2 separate regions of the Homo sapiens genome follow, and region 1 is linked to region 2. The links are contacts of gene promoters, found by promoter capture Hi-C in blood cells and fetal thymus (Javierre and others, 2016). All regions are on one chromosome and are shown on one strand. The core of a region is centred on a gene start or on the middle of the fragment in contact, and the rest is flanking DNA. Distances in the headings are between cores, read along the strand shown.

Region 1 (4,088 bases), core at 141-2,640, 1.2 Mb after region 2:
AATTCCTTTATGATTGAACTATGGCTGAATATGATACTAGGCCTGCCAAGTTCTGTTGTTTGGTGAGAAAATTTTGTGGTATCAGTGTCACCAAGACTGTTTCAACTGTCTAGTATACAGGTATAGGAATTTACATCATCTGATTCTAGAACAATAGAATAAAAAGTTTTCCTATTTCCTACATTAGCAAAACAGCTTTCTTATCATCATTGGTTCTATGGGCCTAGCACTATCATGGGCTTCAAGCATCTCTTTGCTTGCCTTGAAGGAGAGCACTCACTGTGCAATGGGACCATTTTATCTCACAGAGTAGATTTAGAATCTTTTATTCTTGATTCTTGTTGACTCAAACCATCAAGAATTAATTTCCCAAATAAAAGATTTCATTGACTTTTTTTGGTTTTTAATTTTATGGGCCATGCATGTGCTGTCCATTTCAAGTACAGCAAAGCAAAGGAAATTCACAAATTGAAGAAGATCTACAAAATTAAAAAGTAATTATGAAATAAATGTTTGCATTGTATATACATGGTTGTAGATTGGCTTATGTGTCCCAATATGGAAAACATACTTAAGTAGCAATCTTTTGGCAATGGTATATGTGAGTTTTGGTGAGTACTGCAGTTTTAAGTTAGAAGGGTTATAAATATAGGGGTCACATGTCAAGCTGTTTTAAGGCAGATACTCTCTATTTAACATGATCTAAACTTCAGGTTAAAAGAATCTGCACCCATAACAAAATATTTATAGTCTCAGATTCCTAAGAGAATAAATGATATCTTTTGGTTCTCTGACCCCACCTTCTCAGATAGCTTCTTGAAGAAAGCAGAAGCTTACTCATTAAAAAGTAAGTGCCATGAAGTAGCAAATTTGGAGGTGGAAATTAGGAAGAAATATCCTTGGGTCCTGAAAGATATGGAAATAGATTTAAAACACATTATTGAGAAAACTAGGAATAGGGAGAAGGGGTGAAATTCTATTTGTTCTTTTTCAATTTGAATTTAAGTGATTCATGTATTACTTGTATTGAAAGGAGAGAATAGAAGTATCAAGTTGTTTTCCCTTATGTTTTTCTGCAGGTTGTGAAAAACAAACTATTAGAATATTAGAATTAACAGGAATTACAATCCTCATCTCCACCTCCGCATTTCGTAGATGGGAAAAGAGAGGTGCAGCCATGAGGTGACCTACCAAGGTCACAGAGCTAGCTTGACACAGCTAGGTTCCTCCACTGTCTCCCCTTCTCTGGCTGCAGGGAAGAGTTCAGCCTGGGTAAGACAGCCTCACTCTTCCATTTTTCAGCCTGAGTAATGAGGAGGGTGGAGATGGAAATGGCTATATCTGTGACGTGAATGTTGTTTTCACTGCCTCTATACAAGTGAGTTATTTTCATTCCTTCCTGATGTCCTTGATTTTTAATTGTAAAATGAGTGACACTTTGAACTCCCTTATAGTTTGGCTTTATTTTCTGCTACCACCAGTATGTACAAATTGTACAAATTGGAATCTTTCTCAGAGTATCTGAAGCTCTACTTTCTATCAGAAAAAGAAAAGCTGACAGGCAGTTTAGATGTATCTTTTCCTTTTTCTTTTGTGAGCGTCTTGTTGCACTGCAGGTCAATTGTCAGAAATATTTATTTAGCTGAAGTTCTCTTTCTGAGCCGACTGAGGCAAAAAGTGGTTGATTGAAAAGTCAGTGTACATGGGTTCACCACTCTGCAATCAACAGGACAATCAAAGGTGCTGGAGTGTTTTTTTTTCCAGGTTCAGGTTGCACTGCATCATGCTTGTACATACGATGCTCAGCATTTGAAGTTTAAATATTGCTGGGACTAAGAAGCCACATAAATATGACCTGAACTCTGATTGCCACCAAATTGGAATGGCATGTCTAAAGATTTTAGAGTCAGCCTTGAGTTTTGTGGCTTTACAAATTTGTAGAAGCTTTGCGAGTGTAAATAAAACTTGGAGTTTCACTCAAAATCCTGAGGAATGAATACATATATGCATAGACATACACACTTCATTGTAGCAAGCCGCTGAGGAAAACTGACAGTGCCTTGCGCTTAGAGAAGATAAAGGAGAAACACATGTACGTTGCAAGTCACAATTAAAATTCAGGAGCAGAAAAGAATTTACTTTCTATCTTTTCTGACCGTTAGTTGGAGGTTGGTTGGTTGAGGTTTTTGGCCTGTGTACAGACTTGTTATCTGAGGGTACAGTGCAGGAAAACTCATTTAGTCATCATCATCATCACCAAAATCACCACTGCCATTCTGCCACCAAATACCCGTTGCTGATTTGAGAACCTGCCACATAAGGGCATAGCACAAACAGCATGAATTGGCAGAAAGAGCTTATTCTTCTTTAAATTTTCATGGCTGGGCAATTGGCTAAGTTGCAATTTTCAAGTGACCTTCTCTCACTAAACCATATGCACACATACTCGGTCATGTAACAGCAGTCCTTTTTGAACATCTACTGTTTGTCAAGCACTTACAGGCACTAGGCATCTCTACTGTTGAATGTGATAGACATGCTCCATGCTCTTGTGGAGCTTAGAGGAGATGATAAAACAATTTTAAAGTGCTAAGTGCTCTGAGCTTGTGCAGTCCAGAAAATGTCACCAAGGAGAGAATACTTGAGCTGAGTCTGCAGGGCTTAGGCAGCATCATGTGAATATCTGGGGCAAGTCTTGCAAGGCAGAGGGAAAAGCAAGAGACAGAGCTTTAAAATAGAAATAAGCTTGAAGTATTTGAAGAACATAAAGAAGGCTAGTATAGTGGGACTATTGAAAGCAAGGAAGTAGATGGAAGAAAATGAGATTAGAGAGGTATGGGAGGGCTTGGTCTGGCTGGGCTACATAGAGAATAGTGAGGGTTCATGCTGGCACACCCCTGGAGGGTTTAAGCAGGGGGTGAGATCGGACTGCGTTTTAGAAATGTAAGGAATAGATTGATTGCAAAGTGGATGATAATGTGTGTTTCGTGAGGAAGGGATTTGTATCTGTTTCATTCACTGCTGTATCTCCAGCCCTGGAACAGTGCCTGGCAAATAAGAGGTGTGTGAGAAGTACCTGTTGAATGTACAGATAGGTATGTGTGTGTGTTCTTATGATTTTTTTTGTATTTTATTTTATTTTTAATTTTATTATTATACTTTAAGTTTTAGGGTACATGTGCACAACGTGAAGGTTTGTTACATATGTATACATGTGCCATGTTGGTGTGCTGCACCCATTAACTCGTCATTTAGCATTAGGTATATCTCCTAATGCTATCCCTCCCTCCTCCCCCCACCCCACAACAGTCCCCAGTGTGTGATGTTCCCCTTCCTGTGTCCATGTGTTCTCATTGTTCATTTCTCACCTATGAGTGAGAACATGTGGTGTTTGGTTTTTTGTCCTTGCGATAGTTTGCTGAGAATGATGGTTTCCAGTTTCATCCATGTCCCTACAAAGGACATGAACTCATCCTTTTGTATGGCTGCATAGTATTCCATGGTGTATATGTGCCACATTTTCTTCATCCAGTCTATCGTTGTTGGACATTTAGGTTGGTTCCAAGTCTTTGCTATTGTGAATAGTGCCGCAATAAACATATGTGTACATGTGTCTTTATAGCAGCATGATTTATAATCCTTTCGGTATATACCCAGTAATGGGATGGCTGGGTCAAATGGTATTTCTAGTTCAAGATCCCTGAGGAATTGCCACACTGACTTCCACAATGGTTGAACTAGTTTACAGTCCCACCAACAGTGTAAAAGTGTTCCTATTTCTCCACATCCTCTCCAGCACCGTTGTTTCCTGACTTTTTAATGATTGCCATTCTAACTGGTGTGAGATGGTATCTCATTGTGGTTTTGATTTGCATTTCTCTGATGACCAGGGATGATGAGCATTTTTTCCTGTGTTTTTTTTGGCTGCATAAATGTCTTCTTTTGAGAGGTGTCTATTCATATCCTTCGCCCACTTTTTGATGGAGTTGTTTGTTTTTTTCTTTTAAATTTGTTTGAGTTCATTGTAGATTCTGGATATTAGTCCTTTGTCAGATGAGTAGGTTGCAAAAATTTTCTCCCATTATGTA
Region 2 (4,295 bases), core at 870-3,369:
CAAGTCTCCCTGAAATTGGTAAACTGAAGTTTTTAAAGAGAACCACAAAAATAACCTAGAATAACCATTTTATAGTCACTTACTGATTCATTCATTTGCCTCAACTCTCAGAAAAATCTCTTTAAATTCCACCAGAAAACATCTGTCTTCACCTACTAAATTTTGTACCTGCTAATATGAGTTTCTTATTCCTTATGCAATTTGTGAAGAAAGCTCTATTTAGAAAAGATCATCCATGCAACAGGTGAGGAGAAGGTAAAATGGTCACAGAATTCATTTTGATGCAGTTCTCTGGGCTGGTATTAGTAATTAAGAAATGGGATCATGGCCTTGGGGAAGGTCACAGATTAACCATTAGTAGGACAAGAAATCTGAAATCAGATTTGGGGGTCACTAATAAAAGTAACGAGGAATCTTACAAACTTCAGCAAGAAATGCGAGAGGCAAGCCGCAACAGCTGCATGTGAGCAATGATTTAAAAACAGAAGCAGCAATAGAGAAAATAATTAGGGCTTCCAAGGCCCTTCTTTCATTTTTAAGAACACATAAACCATGAGGAGCGTTTAAGCTATCCTCATTGGGAGGCAGACCAAATGCAGCAAGAGGCAGTTCGGAAATAGGAAGCCTGTGGAAAAAAAAAAGAGCACAGTACCTCTTGGCGCTGGTGGAGAGGAGTTTGGAGTTTTTGCTCATGCTGACTTTACTCTCCTTCTTCTTGGGGGTGTTTGTTTCTTTCTCGGTTTGCTGGTTGGAAGACGAAGATGAGGAGGAGCTGGTGCTGGCCCTCGAATCGTCATCCGACATAGCGAACCCCCCACCCCACCCCGCAAACAGCCCCTGCAGGGGGAGAGAAACAAAACAGAAACACACAAACCATGCAGCCAGTGTAAATAAGGAACTCGGGTGCTGTCAGGAGGGCATTGACCAGGGGCGCACGCGGCCGCCCACCGCCCTCCACTCGCTTTTCAAAGTCTGCAGGCCCATTAAGGCTTTTGCAAATCGGACGCGGCTTGTTTATTTTTGGCCCCAAGTGGGGAACGCTGTGGGAAAACGGTCTGGAGCTAGGAGAGAGGCCCCTCCCTCGCCCCCCGGGGCTCTCCGCTGGGCAGGGAGGGAGTAGCCCGGGAGGCGAAGGAGGGCAGGGCGGGGGGCGCGGGGCGCCACGGCGGGGCAGGGAGGGAAGGTCCCGGCGGCCGGCCGGCCTCGGGGCTGTTTTTGTCCGCTTTCCGGGGGTCGTGAGGGGCCGGTGGCCCGGGTGAGACTGTGGGGCCACGAGCGGAGTTTGGCGAGGTCGGGAAGAGAGGAGGGGCGGGAAGGAGTAAGAGAGGAAGCCGAAACAGGGGGACGGAGGCGGGGAGCGGGTGCCCGGGTGGGGGAAGGGAGAGGCCGGCGGGGGGCAGGGGCGACGAGGCCCGAGGCCCCCCCGCGCCGCGCCCCGACGCCCCTCCCGGCCTGCCTGCCTCTGGCCGCCCTGCTCACAGCTATGCGGCCGGGCGGGGGTCCGGAGCACACGCCCGATCGCCACTCCTGTAGGGGGATAGGGGCTGCGGCGGGGAATGGGGGGGTCGGCCTCCGCAGCGAAGACATAACAATGAGCCCTTCCGCCCCGGAGGGGTTAATCCCCGCGAACCCCCGCCCCTGGGGAAAACGGGGCTCCCCCAACTCCCTCCCACCCCCGCTCCCGGGCCCCTCGGTGGCCAGTGGGGGGCTCTTGGGGCAGCGCTGACAGTTCGAGCCACAATGACCCCCGTCCTCAATGCGGGCGGCCCCCGCACCCCACGCGGCCCGGGGTCCCTGCCCATCCCCCGCGGGCGGGCCCCGGACCCCTGGGGCTCCCCAGCCCCTCTCCGCTCCCCCCCCGCGCCGGCCCCGTGCCCTGCGGCCCGGCGGCCCCGGCGGCGCGAGTCGGGGGAGGCGGCGAGGGGTGTCCCCGAGGCCCGGCGGCGCGGCCGGGGGGCGGCGGGCCGCTGGGGGGATCCCCGTACCTCTCTTTGTGTCTGGCTCCTCCGTGCCGCCGCGGCGGCTGCTGCTGCGGCTGCGGCTGGGCCTGGCCACTCGTGTCTCTCTCTCGCTGGGAGAGAAGCGGAAGTGCAGCAACAGCAACTATTAAACAGGCAATGGCTTCCCCCAGCCACACACGCTCGCACACACACCACTCCTCCGCCGCCGCCTCCTCCTCCTCCTCCTCCTCGCCCTCACCCCTCCCCCACCCGGCCCGGTCCCACCCACCCGCGCTCCCCTCCCCCTGCAACACCTCCTGGGGGTGCGCGAGGAAGACCCAGGAGACCCCAGGAAACCCTGTCCCCCACAGACACCCCCACCCCAGCGCCTCCTCCGGACGCCCGGGAAGGGGGCGAGGGTTGTGAATTTTCTCTTAAGTGGTTTGGGAACCTGGATTCTGGGCGGGAGAGGGGAAGCCGATGGAGATGGGGGGCGCTGGGAGTGATTGGAACTAGATGGAATAGGGGGGTCACGAGAGAAAGTTCTTTCCAATGAGGGCTTTTGGAAAGGAGAGGAGTAGGGAGGTGGCAAATTGGTGAAAACGTTGGTAATCTGGTGGTGGCAAAGACTTTAGAGAATGCAGCGGGTACTCCACCTAAAAAGCGATTAAAGAGAAAAAAAAAATCACACAACAAGGGTTTTCTTTGGACTGACACTTGCTTCTCCTTCTAGCAATTTACCTGCTAGGAGCAGAGGTCAGTTTAGGTATGCCTGTGAGAAAATCCCAAACTAGGAATTTTCTGCTCAGGTCACGCGAGGCACGTGCAGTTTTACAATATTAGATTCTTCCACTCACTTTTTATAGAAAGTGATGTGGTTTTTTATAAGAGTGATACAAAGGTTTTGGTGACAGGTAAAACCAACGTGTAACGGGCTTGCGAATGTGAGACATCACTGGGAATAAGCTATATACTACTGAATTAGACTGGATTTAGAATTTTTTGTGTCATTTTACATTAGATGTAAGGTTTGGTTTTTGGAAATTGGATGCAAAGTTCTGGGGATCGCAGAATCCCCAGATCGCTAAATTGACCAAATTATTTTTAAAATATTAAGCCATTTTTCTCTTTCTTTAGCTACCTATAAATGCTATGCAAATAATATTTTTGAAATGATCAGCAATTCTTCTGAATTGTTCCTTATTTAGCATTTTTGCCAATTTTTTTTTAATATTAAGCCATCAAATTACGATTCAGTTTCTCACCTTTTGTCATTTCAGTTGAAGGGAACTAAAGAGATGTGTGCCATTCAAATACAACAGTGCCACACATACAAGGTCTTGTACATTAAGGAGACAGCCTCAGATTTCCATAGGTCACTCTAAATTATCTCATTCAAACTGCCATCATTTTCCACAGCAACAGTGGCTTCAGTTACCACAGGACAACACAAGATATACAGCCCATGGCATATCCAGTAACCAGGAAAACAAGCATTCTCACGACCCAGCCGAACTCCTTCTAACCATCAACCTGAAATTCCAGCTTTATCAAGACTCATAAAGTAATTGTGCATGCTTCTTGCTCAATCCCTACCAGGAAACCTGTATCTACCAGGAGTTGTCATAGAATAAGAAGTTCAAAAGCTGGAAGAAATCTTCAGGGTCATAATTTCAGCCTCCTGCTTCCAGACAGAACTATTTCTCCACCACTGAAATGCATATAGATTTTGAAAAAATTTCCAGACATAACCTTTCTTAAGTGTTTGGTTTCAGGAGTCCTGGTAGAGTATATAAAAATGATGACATTCTTTGCTATATATTTGAAAAAATTTTTTAAACTTCTGAAAAACTGATTGTATTCTTTTTGTTCTGATGAAAAGATGTAAATTCAGAAGAAAACAATAAGAAGATGAAATAAACTCAGGATGAGGAAAATAATCTAAAAATAGTTATTAAAATTGAAATTTCCTCCTATGAAAATTTGGATTTCTGATACTTAAAAATATATGTCTACATTATGAATACAACCAGTAAAAAAATCATGTGTTATAAAGACAAGAACTAGCAGAGATCACAGGAAAATAAAAGGTTTGATTTGCTGAAGTGATCAGGACAGTAGGTGAATTTTTTCTTTAATATTGGTTTGCATAAATTGCCTACCAGCTATAATAAGAATTCTTTTGTAACAGAACATGATATTTTGTGTTGTGTTACTGATGCTTGGGTTGGACTGATTCCTTGTGAAAGAAATCATGAAATCTAACAGCTCCTCCTATAAGGAAAAGTGATTTCCCAACCACCTGTCTGGAAGGTTTCTTGCCCTCTTTTGTGTACTGTTCCCCCTAATCTCTAA

What was found. The method cuts DNA at HindIII sites, captures the fragments that hold promoters and counts their contacts. A CHiCAGO score of 5 or more calls a contact.
Region 1: a fragment that was not itself captured here is called in contact with the fragment with the promoter of UBE2E1 in region 2 in 1 of 17 cell types (erythroblasts); the score reaches 5.6 in erythroblasts.

What each region holds. Positions count from the first base shown.
Region 1 is chr3:22,554,386-22,558,473 of GRCh38, reverse strand. No RefSeq gene overlaps it. Among named protein-coding and RNA genes, the nearest start is that of ZNF385D-AS2, 600 kb to the right of the region's middle. The HindIII fragment of the contact is 1,112 bases long and covers 835-1,946 here.
Region 2 is chr3:23,803,779-23,808,073 of GRCh38, reverse strand. It overlaps UBE2E1 (ubiquitin conjugating enzyme E2 E1), which reads right to left and starts at 2,119. Exons shown (of 6, transcript NM_003341.5): 1 at 1,986-2,119; 2 at 653-837. The coding sequence starts at 804. It overlaps UBE2E1-AS1 (UBE2E1 antisense RNA 1), which reads left to right and starts at 1,169. Exons shown (of 2, transcript NR_046652.1): 1 at 1,169-1,255; 2 at 3,360-4,050. RefSeq lists an enhancer at 604-693 and silencers at 994-1,173, 1,374-1,673, 1,864-1,993, 2,074-2,183. The HindIII fragment of the contact is 12,732 bases long and covers 1-4,295 here.